Linked DNA regions of Homo sapiens: all the other regions are linked to region 3. The links are contacts of gene promoters, found by promoter capture Hi-C in human tissues and cell types (Jung and others, 2019). All regions are on one chromosome and are shown on one strand. Each heading gives the region's core, a stretch centred on a gene start or on the middle of the fragment in contact. The rest is flanking DNA. Distances are from core to core; before and after follow the strand shown.

What was found. Contacts are between HindIII fragments. The study calls those that stand out against the background at their distance.
Region 1: a contact is called between a fragment that was not itself captured here and the fragment with the promoter of B4GALT5 in region 3, in 2 of the 25 tissues and cell types used here (dorsolateral prefrontal cortex and mesendoderm cells).
Region 2: a contact is called between a fragment that was not itself captured here and the fragment with the promoter of B4GALT5 in region 3, in 1 of the 25 tissues and cell types used here (spleen).

What each region holds. Positions count from the first base shown.
Region 1 is chr20:49,874,606-49,877,305 of GRCh38, reverse strand. SLC9A8 (solute carrier family 9 member A8) reads right to left here. Exons shown (of 16, transcript NM_015266.3): 11 at 2,485-2,601. Among named protein-coding and RNA genes, the nearest start is that of MIR12122, 12 kb to the right of the region's middle. The HindIII fragment of the contact is 4,147 bases long and covers 1-2,700 here.
Region 2 is chr20:49,910,498-49,913,197 of GRCh38, reverse strand. The region is part of intron 1 of SPATA2 (spermatogenesis associated 2); the gene reads left to right. Among named protein-coding and RNA genes, the nearest start is that of SPATA2, 3.7 kb to the left of the region's middle. The HindIII fragment of the contact is 3,455 bases long and covers 1-2,700 here.
Region 3 is chr20:49,712,483-49,715,182 of GRCh38, reverse strand. B4GALT5 (beta-1,4-galactosyltransferase 5) reads left to right here and starts at 1,305. Exons shown (of 9, transcript NM_004776.4): 1 at 1,305-1,607. The coding sequence starts at 1,493. RefSeq lists silencers at 1,093-1,422, 1,713-1,832. The HindIII fragment of the contact is 30,885 bases long and covers 1-2,700 here.

The DNA of each region.
Region 1 (2,700 bases), core at 122-2,621, 160 kb before region 3:
TATATTTTTTTAGAGACAGAGTCTCACTCTGTCTCCCAAGCTGGAATGTAGTGGCACGATCTCGGCTCACTGCAACCTCCGCCTCCTGGGTTCAAGCAATTCTCCTGCCTCAGCCTCCCAAGCAGCTGGGATTACAGGCGCTCGCCACCACGCCCAGCTATTTTTTTTTTTTTTTTTTTCAGTAGAGACAGGGTTTCACTGTGTTGGCCAGGCTGGTCTCAAACTCCTGACCTTGTGATCCGCACACCTTGGCCCCCCTCAAAGTGCTGGGATTACAAGCATAAGCCACCGCGCCTGGCCTAAAACTGTATTTTAAAATAGTTGATCACAAACAGCAAGGCTGTTTTACATTCTAACAATGTTTTTCCTTTGAATGGTACCCAAGTTTAAAACAAGTCCACAAGCTGGAGAATTTACCCCCCCTTCTCTCTCTGAAATTTTTTTCTTATCTAATATTTGTGTGATCTTTCCAAATGAGCACATTTAGAAGACATTCAGATCTAGTGGATGCTTTTCCCTGGCAGCATCAACTCCAGGATCTGGATACATCACGGTATCCATTTGCTCTGAATTTCTGCCACTTTGCCACAGTTGGGACCCTTGCTAATGAAGGTGTTCAGTAAACAGGCAGAATTGTGTTTATCATCTTCCCTTGGCGGGATAATGTTTATTTGCAGAGAAATTTGACAGTTTTTCTGTCACATTTGACAAATTGTCAAAATTCGACAATTTTTCTAATGCCCAATCCTCTATGGATGGATATTTAGACTGTTTTTATTTCTGAGAGGTTCAACAAACACCCCAGTATGGGCTAAATTCCACAGGGTTGGACTGTTGGGCCAAAGAGCACGTGCCTTTTAAATTCAGACAGACGTGGCAAATGACTCTCCAGAAAAGATTCCAGTAGGCCTGTTTTCCACACGCCAAGGCCAGAAGTGGGTATTATCAAACTTAACATTTGCCAAACTGCTGGGTACAAAATAGAATCTTTTTGGATGGACGATTTGCTTTATGTGTCTTTAACTGGGAGGCTCAGGGTCAGAATCTGTAGCCTGGCTTTCTGAGAGAGGTGCTGTACAAATAATACCCTCTGGCCCAGGAATAAAGAGACCTGGCCTGCATACCCACTTCTTGGCCATGAGACCATGGGCAAGTCATGTGACTACTCCTCACCTGAGCCTCCTTATCTGCTGAAGTTTCTGCCTGGGTTGCCTTTGCCTCCTAGCACGCTAACAGTGTGGAAGTAGCAATTAAAAATGAGACAAGTGGCCGGGTGCGGTGGCTCATGCCTGTAATCCCAGCACTTTGGGAGGCCGAGGCAGGTGGATCACAAGGTCAGGAGATCGAGACCATCCTGGCTAACACGGTGAAACCCTGTCTCTACTAAAAATACAAAAAACAAAATTAGTCAGGCATGGTGGCGGGCACCTATAGTCCCAGCTACTCCGGAGGCTGAGGTAGGAGAATGGCATGAACCCGGGAGGCGGAGCTTGCAGTGAGCTGAGATCACGCCACTGCACCCCAGCCTGGGCGACACAGCAAGACTCCATCTCAAAAAAAAAAAGAGACAAGTCCCTCAAAATGCCAGGGGTGATTTTGATGACAGCTAGGGCAAAGTCACTTGGGGGCCAGCTTAAAGGGACATGGTGAGAGCTGTTCCCCGACTCCAACCACTTCCAAGTATAAAGTTGGTGGGGAGATACATGGGTATGTCGGAGCGTGGGGGAACAAGAACTTGAACAAACTGCTTAAAGACAAAGCCATCGTGGTTTATCCCAGCCCAACAAATGACACCTCTACTGCGAACTGTCCCCGAGTGATGTCCCTCAGGCTGCTCTTGTGAATAAAGGATTCTGTGGACAAGTTTGGAAAATTCTATAACTATATCCCCCGTTAAGGATTTGACAATCCATTATTTGCTGAAAAGTCTGGCAATTCATAAATGTTAAACTTTATTTAACCAGGATTTCCTAAACTCTTGTTTGACTACAAAAGCTTTGTTTTTCTTTCTTTCTTTTTTTTTTTTTTTTTAAGATCATAGCCCACTGCAGCCTTGAACTCCTGGGCTCAAGTGATCCTCTCAGTCTCCCAAGCAGCTGGGATTACAGGTGTGAGCCCCATGCCTTGCTTGACTATGGAGCCATTTTCACCAAACCATCATTAATATTTTATTTCCAAGGAATACATTTTTGGAAATGTCACATTAATACATTAAAAATGCATGTATCAAATGTTCATAATTGGTTCTCACTATTTTTGGTCTTTAAATTGTAGGCGCCAGATGTTCATTTATTAGGTGTTTGGTTTACTTTATGAAATTTCAAAGCCAGAGGAACAAACAAAAGATAAGGGAGTGAGGGATCTGGCTCTGAGGAGCTGCTGCCCTGCTGCCAGGGAAAGTCTCAACTGACTTCTCAAACAGGATAAGGAAGCAAGATCAGCTCTGGGTGGGCCTGCTCACGGCCACACAGAAGCAGAACTCACCACATAAGAAGGCCACGGTGCGGAGGGTCTGCTGCATGAGGATCTGGGTGACTGGGGAGAGGTTATGGTGCGTGTAGTGGGACATCACGATGCCTGAGAAAAGGATGGCCATGATGCCTAGAGAGGGAGAGAACAGAACAGAAAGCACTGCCGTGTGATCCCCAACTCAGATCTCACAATGCCTGCAAGGCCCTGGGGCCTAGAGCATTAGAGGGT
Region 2 (2,700 bases), core at 42-2,541, 200 kb before region 3:
TGTAGGTAAAGTGGGAAGCCCAATGCTTAGCACATAGTAGAACCTCAGTAATTGTTAGTCTCTTTCTTTCCTTTCCTTATTGACTGATTGAGACAAGGTCTTGCTCTGTCACCCAGGCCGGAGTGCAGTGGTGCCATCATAGCTCACTGCAGCCTCAAACTCCTGGGCTCAGTGGATCCCCCCACCTCAGACTCCCAAGTAGCTAAGACTACAGGTGGGTGTCACCACACCCACCTAATTTTTTTTTTTTTTTTTTTTGTAGAGACGGAGTCTAACTATGTTGTCCAGGCTTGTCTTGCCCTTAATTATCTTTTAGCTTTTACTTTCTTCCGCCTTTTCCCTCACCTACCCAGGTTGGTTTGAGATTTGTTTTAGATAGGCTTCCTGTCCTTATTGTGAGTATTTTGAACATCAGCTGGGCTGTTTGGATCCCTTTCCTTTATTTATTGTTTTTCAGCAACAAACAAGGGTGTGGACTGTGGTGCGATTATAGAGCAGCAGACGCTGAGCCGAGCTTGAGACTGGCTGACTTTGTAAAAAATCAGTCTCTTTGAGTTCAAGGCTGACTTCCTTGGAGAAAAATTACAGCAGTATTCGGAAGCTTAATGTCTCTGTGTTTGAATGGTTCTCAGACTACCAAAAAACAGACCCTGGGGCCAGAGGCGTGATGGCAGCTTCTCTTAGATAAGTCAAGAATGGTAAATGCATGTGTGACTATCCTCTCCAGTGGTGCAATACATTTATTTATGTAGAGATGGAGTTTTTGCTCTGTTGCCCAGGCTGGAGTGCAATGGCACGATCTCAGCTCACTGCAACCTCTCCCTCCTGGGTTCACGCCATTCTCCTGCCTCAGCCTCCTGAGTAGCTGGGATTACAGGTGTTCGTCCAGCTAATTTTTGTATTTTTAGTAGAGGCGGGGTTTCGCTATGTTGGCCAGGCTAGTCTCAAACTCCCAATCTCAGGCGATCCACCCACCTTGGCCTCCCAGAGTTGTAGGATTACAGGCGTGAGCCACCGCGCCTGGCCTGCATTTTTATTTTTTAAGAGAATATACATTTTAAATTGTTTATTTTTTTATGGACAGAACAGTATGAAGTTAGAGCACATACCTACTTTGATACTAGGTGGTATGCTCTTCCAGCTAGAGCTGCAGGCAGGATGTGTCTCCTTTATTGCTGTCCTCTACCTGTCCCACCCATCCCCATTCCCCGACTGGGTCCAGCTCAGGCAGAGGGTGGGGGCTGCAGAAATGCTTGCTGGACATGGGAATCGTGGGGTGGTGAGAGGAATACAGGTTCCAAGTCAGAAGGCCAGGCTTGGATTATCGGGTCCATCATCTGCTAACCTTGAGCTACTTGTCGTACCTCATGCCATCTTTCTGAGCCCGTTTCTTTGCTCTCCAGCTGATCTCCCAGGATTCTTGGGAGGTACCAATGAGAAACTAAAGTGATGGCATCGTGAATGCAGACATCCTTTGCAGCATCCATTTCTCTTTTTCTCTTTTCTTTTTCTTTTTCTTTTTTTTTTTTTAGAGACGGAGTCTCGCTCTGTTGCCCAGGCTGGAGTGCAATGGGGCGATCTCGGCTCACTGCAGCCTCCGCCTCCTGGGTTCTAGCAATTCTCCTGCCTCAGCCTCCCGAGTAGCTGTGATTACAGGCGCATGCTGCCACACCCGTCTAATTTTTTTTTAAATTTTGGTAGAGACGGGGTTTCACCGTGTTGCCCAGGCTGGTCTCGAACTCCTGAGCTCAGGCAATCCACCTGCCTCGGCCTCCCAAAGTGCTAAGATTACAGGCGTGAGCCACCGTGCCTGGCTGCAGCATCCATTTCACCTACTTTATCAAGCACAGGCAGGCTCTGTGTTAGGCATCGTGGTGAACAACACAGACATGGTCCTTGCCTTTATGGAGCTTACCACGAGCTTACCAGCTTACCAGGGAGGGTGAGGGGTGGACAAAGAGAGGAAGCTAATGAATGAATGAAGTTGATAGTTTCAGATTGTGGTTATCGTAGGAGAATGTGACAGTGTGGAACTGGGAAGGTGAGATAGGGTGGTACCTCTAGAGGCTGATGTTTGAGCTGAGGCCTGAATGATGAGAATCTTCCTGAAGCAGAATTTTATCCCAAGTGGATTTTGTTTTCTTTTGTAAAGACAGGGTATTGCTATGTTGCCCAGGCTGGTCTCGAACTCCTGGCCTTGAGCAATCCTCCTGCCTTGGCCTTCCAAAGTTTAGGGATTACAGGCGTGAGCCCCCGCACCTGGCCCCTAAATGGATGTGTTTGCCTCCTGTACTCCTCAGCCTTATTTGTCACTGTAGCACTGGGCTCCCTCAGCAGTGCAGTGTGTTGGAGACAGTGGCCTCTCTGTGTCCCTAGTTTTGCTACACATCCCACCTCTCACCGCACCATTAGTACTCCCAGGAGTCTCCTCCTGGGGACAAAATCTGTGGAGGAGCCAGACTACTGGCTCTTTGAGATGAGGATGATTTTGTTGACCTCCTGATAGTTGCTGGGCTCGTAGGACCTTCCTAGCTGAACACAGGTCTGCTAAAGGAGTCCCCCACATGCCAGGCCCAGTCCTGCTGCAGCTTCTCTCAGCCCCTTGCTGTCTCCCACACTCAGCAGACATGAAGCACACAGGTCACCTTACTGAGCAAGATGGTCACAGGCCTGCACCCACGGAGCTTCTGGGCAGGAGCA
Region 3 (2,700 bases), core at 56-2,555:
ATATGTCTACACAGGGACACTGGCCTCCTCAGTCCAGCTCCTTGAGGCTACTGCTTCTTGCCATAAATTTCTAGGACTGTTCATTGCCTTCTGAGGTCCTTTGAGCTGATGCTGATCTGAAAGCATTTTTTTGGATATGGTCCCATACCCAGGTGATGGGGATAGGATACCGATTTGCCTGCAGGATAAGAATTAGAGGTCATACAGACTGCTGAGACAGTTACAACCTAGAGGTCAAGGGCCTGACATGGGAGACAGGCCAGTTTTGATTTAAGCCCTTACTGCAAGGCTTGGGTGAATTGCCTTTCCATCTAGAAACCTCAGTTTCCTCATTTGTATGATAGTAATAATAACAGCACACATCTCAAGACTGGTGGGGGAATTTCATGGCATGAGTGAAGTCCATGTTTCTCAGCAGAAGTCTAGAGACATTGACAATTGTTATCATTATGCTATTTCTGATACAGTAGGATCCCTGACTACAGCTCCAAGCTCATCCCTATTTCCCCCCCTACTTCACTGGATTTTATCCATGTTGGCCTTGGATTCAACTCGGGGGCAGATCAGCCCTTTTCCTACCTCAGGGCCTTTACACCTGCTGTTCCCCCTGGTATGACTGCTTTTTCCCCAGCTTATTCAAAAAAGCTGGCGCTTTCTCACCCTTTTATATCTCAGTTCGTGTCACTGCTCAGTGAGGCCTTCCTTGACCACTCCAGCCTGCCTGCAATACATCCTCCTGTTTTATCGTATTCATATGTGTTACCAGTACCTGATATTACTAGCTGATTTGTTTCTTTTATCTCTCACATAATGTAAGTTTCAAGTAGACAGAGATTTTTATCGTTTTTTTTCTCTGTAGCATGCCCAGCGCCAACAACTGTGTCTGGCATTCAATAAATAAATGGTGAATTGAATGAATGAATGAATGAATGAATGAGGGTGTATACCAGGCCGAACCCCCAAGCCTTGCAGTCCCCACTCTTCTGCTGCAGTGGGCAACGAGATGAGTCAGACTTTGTAGATGGCCCCTTGGCCCCCGAGATGGGGGACGAGCTAGCGCGGAGCACTTGGGAGACATTCCCCGAAAGCCTGGGCGGTGGCCGCACTGGGAGAGGGTCTGTCGCCATTTGGCGATTACTCCATGCGGGCTGCTGTGGGCGCCGAGCGAGGGTCGGCGGCGAGCGCAAGCGCGCGGGTCTTTTGCGACGGTGCCCGGCGGCACTGGCCCCGCCTCCCGCGCGTGCGCCCCGCCTCCGCCCCCGCCGCTGCGCCCGCTCGGGGCCGCTCTGGCCCCCGCCCGCTTCATGTGGCCCGGCCCGCGACGGCCGGCGGCTGGGAGCGGCGAGGCGGCGGCGGCGGCGAGTGGCGGCCCGCGAGGCCCGGGAGGCGGTGGCCGAGGCCCAGGCGGTGGCGGCGGCGGCCCAGGAGGCGGCGGACGGGGAGCTGCGGGAGCAGGCCCGGCCTGGCTCTCTAGCGGCCGCCTGGCTGCAGCATGCGCGCCCGCCGGGGGCTGCTGCGGCTGCCGCGCCGCTCGCTGCTCGCCGCGCTCTTCTTCTTTTCTCTCTCGTCCTCGCTGCTGTACTTCGTCTATGTGGCGCCCGGCATAGGTAGGAAGGGGGCTTGGGACCGCGGCGGCTGCCGCTCTGGCCTTGAGGGACCCGGGGAATCCCCGCCCCTCCCTAAGGGGCCCCGGCCGGGAGGCGGCCCTGAGCCTGGTCCTCCGAAGACTCCGGAGTCCTGGCCCGGCTCTCGGGGACGCCAGGACATTCCTGCCCTCCGCACCCCAACAGGCGCCCGGGATCCCTCTCCCGCGCCAGCCTCCGGCCCACCCCGCCCCTCCTAACGCCACCCTCGCGAACCCGACTGTACCTTCACGCCCGCCCCTTGCTCCGGAACCCCCTTCCCGCTCTTGCCTCGCTGGAACTCCCACTTCCCGCTCCTCTGCTCGAGAACTCCCGCTTCCCCTTCCCTTCCCCGGGGTCTCCTCGAACCCCCATTCCCGGCATTCCCCGCACCCCAGTCCCCCGCGGCGCGCCCGCTCTTCGCCGAGCCCATGTGCCCGGGTCCCAGGCCGCCCCACCTTCTAGCTCCCATCCATCCTCCCCCACTCCCCATGACTCCATCGTTTCCTGCTCCCGTGAGCCCCCTCCCTCCCCTTTCTTCCTCTACTTCCCCTATTACATCCACCTCCAGGTCCTCCTCCCTAACTCACGTTCACCTCTTCAGTGGCCTGATCTCTCTGCCTGCCGGTGGCACCCCCCTTCCCCTTACAGAGGTCCACCCCCATTCAATCTCCTGCTAATCCCCTGAGCGTCCCATGCCTCTTCCCCATCTCCCCCCCCCCCACCTCGCGTACCCACAAGGGCACATCCTTGTCACCTTTGCCCCCAGCCCCCCAGACTTTCAGCCACAGCTTCTTTCTCAACTGAAGACCTGGGGAAGGGGTGCTGTCTGTGTTCTTTCTTCCACTTCTGCCCTCTCCTAGCCTTGAGGGTAGATGGTGTGGTTCTTCAGTATTGGATAGTGCCTGCTCTGCGGACAAAGGAGAAGTTTAAATTGTCCGTAGAGAAGGGGATATGATTGGGGCCTTTGGGAAATGGTACCAGGTGAGAAGGGGGAGCATGGAGGAAAGATGTAATGGGTACTCCTTCTTTTCAAAGTCTTATCCTTTAAAGGAAAGGCGGTCTCTGGAGAAACTGA